2 separate regions of the Homo sapiens genome follow, and region 1 is linked to region 2. Evidence: promoter capture Hi-C in 16 types of primary human blood cells and fetal thymus (Javierre and others, 2016). All regions are on one chromosome and are shown on one strand. The core of a region is centred on a gene start or on the middle of the fragment in contact, and the rest is flanking DNA. Distances in the headings are between cores, read along the strand shown.

What was found. The method cuts DNA at HindIII sites, captures the fragments that hold promoters and counts their contacts. A CHiCAGO score of 5 or more calls a contact.
Region 1: a contact is called between a fragment that was not itself captured here and the fragment with the promoter of MYB in region 2, in 1 of 17 cell types (fetal thymus). The highest score is 5.3, in fetal thymus.

What each region holds. Positions count from the first base shown.
Region 1 is chr6:134,184,561-134,187,950 of GRCh38, forward strand. The region is part of intron 3 of SGK1 (serum/glucocorticoid regulated kinase 1); the gene reads right to left. Among named protein-coding and RNA genes, the nearest start is that of SGK1, 130 kb to the right of the region's middle. The HindIII fragment of the contact is 6,291 bases long and covers 1-3,390 here.
Region 2 is chr6:135,179,013-135,182,638 of GRCh38, forward strand. MYB (MYB proto-oncogene, transcription factor) reads left to right here and starts at 2,296. Exons shown (of 16, transcript NM_001130173.2): 1 at 2,296-2,524. The coding sequence starts at 2,502. RefSeq lists silencers at 1,415-1,524, 1,965-2,014, 2,085-2,304, 2,365-2,414, 3,464-3,543. The HindIII fragment of the contact is 5,797 bases long and covers 211-3,626 here.

The sequences.
Region 1 (3,390 bases), core at 399-2,898, 1.0 Mb before region 2:
GCAGCTGACCTTTCTTTGTCATTCACTCTATTTCAATTATCTGCATATTAGTTTTATTATGTGACTTTTTCTGGGTTTATTGTTGATTTACCCAACTAGAAAGTAGTCTCTATGAGATAGGGATATCATGTTTGTTTGTTTAAGACAGGGTCTTGTTCTGTCCCGCAGTCTGGAGTGCAGGGCTGTAATCACGGCTCACCACAACCTCTGCCTCCCGGGCTCAAGCAATCTTCCCACCTCAGCCTCTCTAGTAGTTGGGACCACAGGTGTGTGCCACCATGCCTGGCTTATATTTTATATTATTTGTAGAGATGAGGTCTTGCGGTGTTAGCCAGGCTGGTCTCGAACTCCTGGGCTCCAGTGATCCGCACACCTAAGCCTCCCAAAGTGCTGGGATTATAGGCATAAGCCACCGACCCTGGCCGGAATAATTATCTATATTATTTGCCACATCATCCCTGGTGCCCAGGAGAGGGCCTAGCCCACAGGAAGTGCTTGAGAAATAAAATGCTTTCATAATGGTTTGCATTAAACCCCCTCTATGGACGATATCATATGAATTTGGCTTATAGAAAAGTATGCCATTGTAACCTGTTTTACTCTTGTCATCCAACCAACTTTCCTCAAGAACTTTAGAACTTTTCTTCCTGCCAGGGGATGACACAGTCACCTCATAGACTGTTTTCTTTCTGTCTTGCAGCCATGAAGTTCTCCATAATTTTTGTATTGCCAGAAAGCCTGAATGAACATTTAGCACAACCCCCTTCTACTTTATATCCCTTTATATCCTCCCAAAATAGCCTTCTCTACACAATGATAAGGACTTGATAAAAGGGCCCCTATTGTGCAGTCCCAGCCTGGACAAAGTAGTTTTAAAGCCATAGCAGAATGGCCATCAGGTTGTCAGAAATGACAAAAGCCACAGCACATATGCAAGTGGTACAAATGCTTAGTGCCAAGTTAAGATATGAAACTACACTTTCATATCTCTATGAGTGTGTGTGTGTGTGTGTGTGTGTGTGTGTGTGTATTAGTTTTCTGGAGAGACAAAACCAATAGGATATATCTAGAGGGAGACAGAGAAAGAGATGGAGAAAGAGAAAGAGAAGAGAGGAGATTTATTAGGGGAATTGGCTCATACAATTATGAAAGCTGAGAAATCCCATGGCAGGCTGTCTGCAAGCTGGAGACCCTGGGATGCCACTAGCATGGCTCAGTCCAAATCTGAAGAACTGAGAATCCGGGGGCTGCTGGTGTAAGTCCTAGCGTCCAAAGGCCAAAGGCTGGAGAACCTGATGTCCGAAGGCCGGAGAAGAAGCATGTATCCCAGTTCCAGGAGAGTGAGTGACCTACCCACGGTTCTATCTAGGCTCCCAAGCGATTGGACACTACCCCCCACACCCCCCTGTCCCCGCATTAGTGGGGGCGGGTCTTTTCTACTTAGTCCACCCAGACTCACACATCAGTCTCCTTTGGAGGCACCCTTAAGGCCACACCCCAAAATAATGCTTTGCCAGTTCTCTACGTATTCCTTAATCCAGTCAAGTTGACACTTAAAATTAACCATCACACGTTCTCACCTTTCAACTTGGCAGCCATTACACATCTCTTTGTATCACACTTAATCTCCAAATAAAGACAATAGCAAAGTGATAATTCTACCTAATATAATGCACCTGTTCTGTGTACAACAGAAAACATACCAGTCCCTTCCCCAGAAGAGAAGGTAAAGTCCTTGGGTGATGTTTACTCTTCTGCTGATATCCCATAACTTAAATACTATGATATAAAATTAACAATACTTAAATACTGACATAAAGTCAATAAATCTTGTAAATACTGATATAAAGTCAATAAATGTGTTACATGATAAAGACATAAGAGAAGAATGAAAACAAAGATATTAATATATGTACATAGACGCACAACATATTCTTAACAAAACAGGGAGGAAATACTCATCACAGTTGCAGTGCTTGGTTCTGTAACTGGTCACGTGATCATAGCTGGTATTTATAACTACCTTCCTTTACCACCCATTCTATATTTCCTTTACCTTCAACAAGAACCTCAGTTGATTGTGGTTCTTTATGTGGCAGGTGACCCAAACCTACATTTCTGAAGAGTCTGGGCCATTCACAGACTTACTCAGATTGAGTTGTTGTAATTTCTCATTGACCTTAATCACAGGACATGGTAATACTAAGAGACATCCTAAGGGATCTCCTGTATTTCAGACATACACTTCTGGGTTTTTTTTTTGGTTTTTTTTTTGAGACGCAGTCTCACTGTGTCGCCCAGGCTGGAGTGCATGGGTGTGATCTCGGCTTGCTGCAACCTCTGCCTCCTGGGTTCAAGCAATTCTCCTGCCTCAGCCTCCCGAGTAGCTGGGATTACAGGCACCCACCACTATGCCCGGCTAATTTTTGTATTTTAGTACAGACGGGGTTTCAGTATGTAGGTCAAGCTGGTCTCGAACTCCTAACCTCAAATGATCTGCTCGCCTCGGCCTCCCAAAGTTCTGGGATTTCAGGTGTGAGCCACCGTTCCTGGCAGACATACACTTCTTTATCTCCATTGTGGAATAGTAGTCCAATTTCTCCCTAGTATTTTGAATCAGTTACTCCAGCCAACATCATAACTCCCTTCTTAGCTTTTTGATTCAGAGGCATGAGGATCCCAAAGTGGCTGGGTGGTAGTCTTAACTTCCAGTTCAATGGAATCATTGTTGTGTCTCCGGAAGCACTCCTCCCTCTGGAACTAAGACCTCCAGGCCTGCAGATCATAAAGTCGTGGGAACAGAAAGCAAAAATGTTTCCAATGGGTCACTAGGGGGAATAGTGAGTGGTGCCACTCCCATTTCCACCCCTTCCACCCCTTCCATTTCTGGACCTGTGGATCCTGGCTATGGGAGAAGCAGCACCATATACTGGATGTTGATTCAGAGCATATACAACTTTCTGGAGAACCTTGCACCAGCCATGCAAAAAAATCATCACCGTAACTTCAAAAGGCCATTACACCATTCATTCTATTAACCCAGCTGCTCCAGGATGATGGGAAACATGGTTAAGACCAGTGAATTCCAGGAGCATGGGCCCATTGCTGCCTCTCTTTGGCTATAAAATGTATTCCTTGATCAGAAGCAGTGCTGTGTCTGTGTGGAATACCATGACAGGGGATAGGGCATTCTGGGAGTCCATGGATGGTAGTTGTGGCAGAAGCATTGTGTTCAAGGAAGGCAAATCCATATTCAGAATAAGTGTCTACTGCAGTAAGGACAAAACACTGCTTCTTCCATGATGGAAGCTGTCCAATATAATCAGCCTGCGACCAGGTGGCTGGCAGATCACCCCGAGGAAAGGTGCCATATCAGAGGCTCAGTGTTCA
Region 2 (3,626 bases), core at 1,046-3,545:
GCCCTGCCACAGCTGAAATAACTGATGTAGCAAGCAGATCTTAAAAAAAAAAGTGATGAAATGTGTAAAGTTGTCATCTAAAAATACTTTTGTAATAATTATAAATGGAGAGAGAAAATGTATAAATACAAACATTCTGTAATGAGTTTAAAAATATAGTTTCATCCATACAAGAATTTTGATAACTCCATTTGATTCTGTTTTTCCATAAGCTTATCAGATAGCAATATATCCAACATTAGCCTAATAAAATTACTGCATGTGAATTCTTTATTGGACTATGCATATTCCCAAACATATTATTGTCATACAACTGAGGGAAAAATGTAAAACTATATCTGGGAAATGAAAAATTATAAATTCTCAAAATGATACATAGGAAAATGATTTACAAAGAAAAAAAGGAAAACTGAACTTAGTATCTTTCTACTTTAAAGGGGTTCAAGAACTTAGGAGTAGTTACACACCTCCTAAAATCTTGAAAAAGAGGCTATGAACTCACTTCACAAAGGGTTCAGATACTCACATTGTGTCCAAGAGACTCAGCAATTGGGAATCTTGCCAGTTAGATTCATAAAGCAATCCGAAAGCCAGAATGCAATTTCTTTAGGGGTGGTTTCTAGATGTTTATTCTAGATATTTTTAAAAGATTTTGTTTATTTTTGATGTGAAGAAAGAAAATTATTATAGAATCTAGAAATAAATATTGGCTTTAAAAGTATTAATTTGCCTTGTCCTTTGTAATTGTGATCCGAAATATCTCACAATAATTTTGTTTCAGTGTTATTTTCTTCTCAGGAGGAAAGGAATGTTAAAACCTTACTAGCAACTAACACTTGATAAAGATTTAAACTATATAACAATTTTAAAGAAAGTCTAAAACACCAGATAGTCTTGAAACCTCGCATGCTTCACCGTTTAATAAAATTATGACTCATTTTAGTAAGAACATGCTTTTTTAGTAAGAAAAAATGCTTTCTGAGCTAAGTTTGAACTGCTGGGGCACATGGGACACCCACAAACCCAGTCAGCAGAAGTCTCAAACTCCTAAAAGATTAAAGGAAAAATACATTAGTGTGTACAGAGAATGAAAAAAAAATCCCCAATGGTTCTAATCTATAAACGGAAGTAAAACTAAAACTCCCCTAAAATCCCCCCAGTCATCAATCCTTATAAATTCAGCACTTATCTTCTTCCTTTACTTCTGGAGACCCTCATTAAACAACACGAAAGCCTTTGCTGACTTTTATCTCGTAAAATAGAGCCCTCAAATGACACTAAGCAGGGATACCGACCTCCAAAATCACAAACTGTTTTACTTCTAAAACCATGCATGCAAACGTGGGGTTTCCTGAGTTCTGCTAGGGGCGGGCTGTCTGGACCCCCGTGTATTTTTTTTTTTTTTTTTTTTTTTTTTTTTTTTTTGCAGGTGTGCAATCCAGGGTGCGCGCTCTGTGCAGGGAGGGGAGCAAAGGTGTGCGGTGGGCACCGCCTGGGCCGGGCGGGGCGGGGTGGGTGGGGCCCGGGTGTGTGCTGGGGTGAGAGTGAAGGACATGTGACAATACGACGGTGGCGGCTGCAGGATCCGGGAGGGGAGTGAAAGCTCCGCTGGGGCGCTCCATTAGTGAGCGGTGATGGTTGCCGCCCACTTGTATTGAAGCGTCCTTTGTCACTAACAAGTTAAATTAGAGATGTTATTTATTTAAGAAGAAGGAAAAAAAACCCTAGCCAAACAGCCTATGAATACATATGCTCACATCCCCTACTCCTCCAACTCCTAATTTCCCCGTCTCCAGAGGGCACAGTTGTAAACCTTGACGAAAATCCAATCTTCTGTGCGGGAATTTCCCCCCACCGCTTGCCGCCCCCGCGACAGTGAGTGGGAGCTGGAGGAGCTCTGGTCCCGCTGCCCGGGAGCACGCGGAGCCGGGCGACCGCGGTGCGGCAGCCAGGGAGGAGGGGAGGCGGCGGGACTGGGCGCGGGTCGGCGCCGCCGCGACCCGGGAGCGGGGTTTGCTCAGGAAAAGGCGCCGTCGCGGCCCCCGGCCACCCCTCCCTGGCCCCGGGCTCCCTGCCCGCGCGCCTCCCGGGCCTCGCGGCGCGCTAGGCGCACCGCGGCGGCGCGAGCGCCGAATGGGAGCGGCGACCCGGCCAGCCCGGCAGCCCCGCGGGCGGCAGCCAGGGCGACCGCGGAGGCGGCGGGCAGGGCGCGTGCGCACTGCAGGGGCGCCAGATTTGGCGGGAGGGGGAGTGTCCAAAGCTCTTTGTTTGATGGCATCTCTGTTTACAGAGTTTACACTTTAATATCAACCTGTTTCCTCCTCCTCCTTCTCCTCCTCCTCCGTGACCTCCTCCTCCTCTTTCTCCTGAGAAACTTCGCCCCAGCGGTGCGGAGCGCCGCTGCGCAGCCGGGGAGGGACGCAGGCAGGCGGCGGGCAGCGGGAGGCGGCAGCCCGGTGCGGTCCCCGCGGCTCTCGGCGGAGCCCCGCGCCCGCCGCGCCATGGCCCGAAGACCCCGGCACAGGTAACGGGGAGCCGGGCGGGCGGCCGAGGGCGGGGGCGCGCGGGGGCGCGCGGGGCGCCAGGCTCCCGGGAGCAGGTGGGAATTCGTTCCGGGATCATCTGAGGGGCTGTCAGACCCTCCGAGGACCTGGAGCCCCTGCCTCGGCAGCAGAAGCCGCTCCAGAGACTGATGAATGGAAGAGTCTTTGCGGGAAATGTATCCGGACGTTGGGAAGCACGCCCTGCGGCTCATTTTGCAAGTTGCATGGGGATACATTTTTCTTTAGGGGGAAAAAGAAAGCACGTTCCAGCCGAGGGCAGAGCGGTGCCCACCAGCCCCGGGGAGCCCACCAGGTGCCTGGCTTGATGCCGCGGGTGTCGGCGAGGGATCCGCAGCGTAATTGCTGGATGCATTGAGATATGTTTGGACTTGGAAGTGCAGAGCATATGGCAGATACAGGGAAAATGCTGGATTGTTTAGTAGCTGCAGGTAGTTCATTTAAATTTCATTCATTCTTTATGGAGGCGAGGACCAGTGTCAGCTGACAGGCGGCTGAAAAGCAGATTTTAGGGGGATAAAGGGGTCTCTACTTTTGCAAATTGTCTTAAGACCTGGTTTTGGAGGTTCGAATCATTTTTCTCTGAAAGGCTTTTACTTCCACTGCAAACATTGCACGCGCACCCACACGCGCCGCCGTCGCACATGTCACTGCACTTAGGGAGGCTCGCCGGGAAGATGGGTGCAGTCCCTTCACATTTTTGGCCGGACAGATGGGAAGAGGGAGAGGAGGAGGAGGAGGGAAATCCTCGTCCGAACTGTCAGTTGCTCGTTCCCCAGTCTCCACCGGCCTCTGGACTTTCCCAGCAGCACACGCCGGGGCTCCCTGCGAGCGGCGGGTGCCAGGGCTAGCTCGGCAGCCGTCGCAGTCGCCACTCGGCTCAAGGGGACAGAGGCCGGCAGCACCCAAGGCCGCTGCCGCGCAACCGGGACGCGATCCCCGCGGGCTCTGCCCCCAGGCGAAAGGTCCCTGCGCGGCGCGCACACGTGGATGCGGCTGAGGTCGCCGCGCCTTCTCGCACCCTCCTTCAGCCGCCTTAGGTCGCCCCGGCCGAGGCGCGGTGAC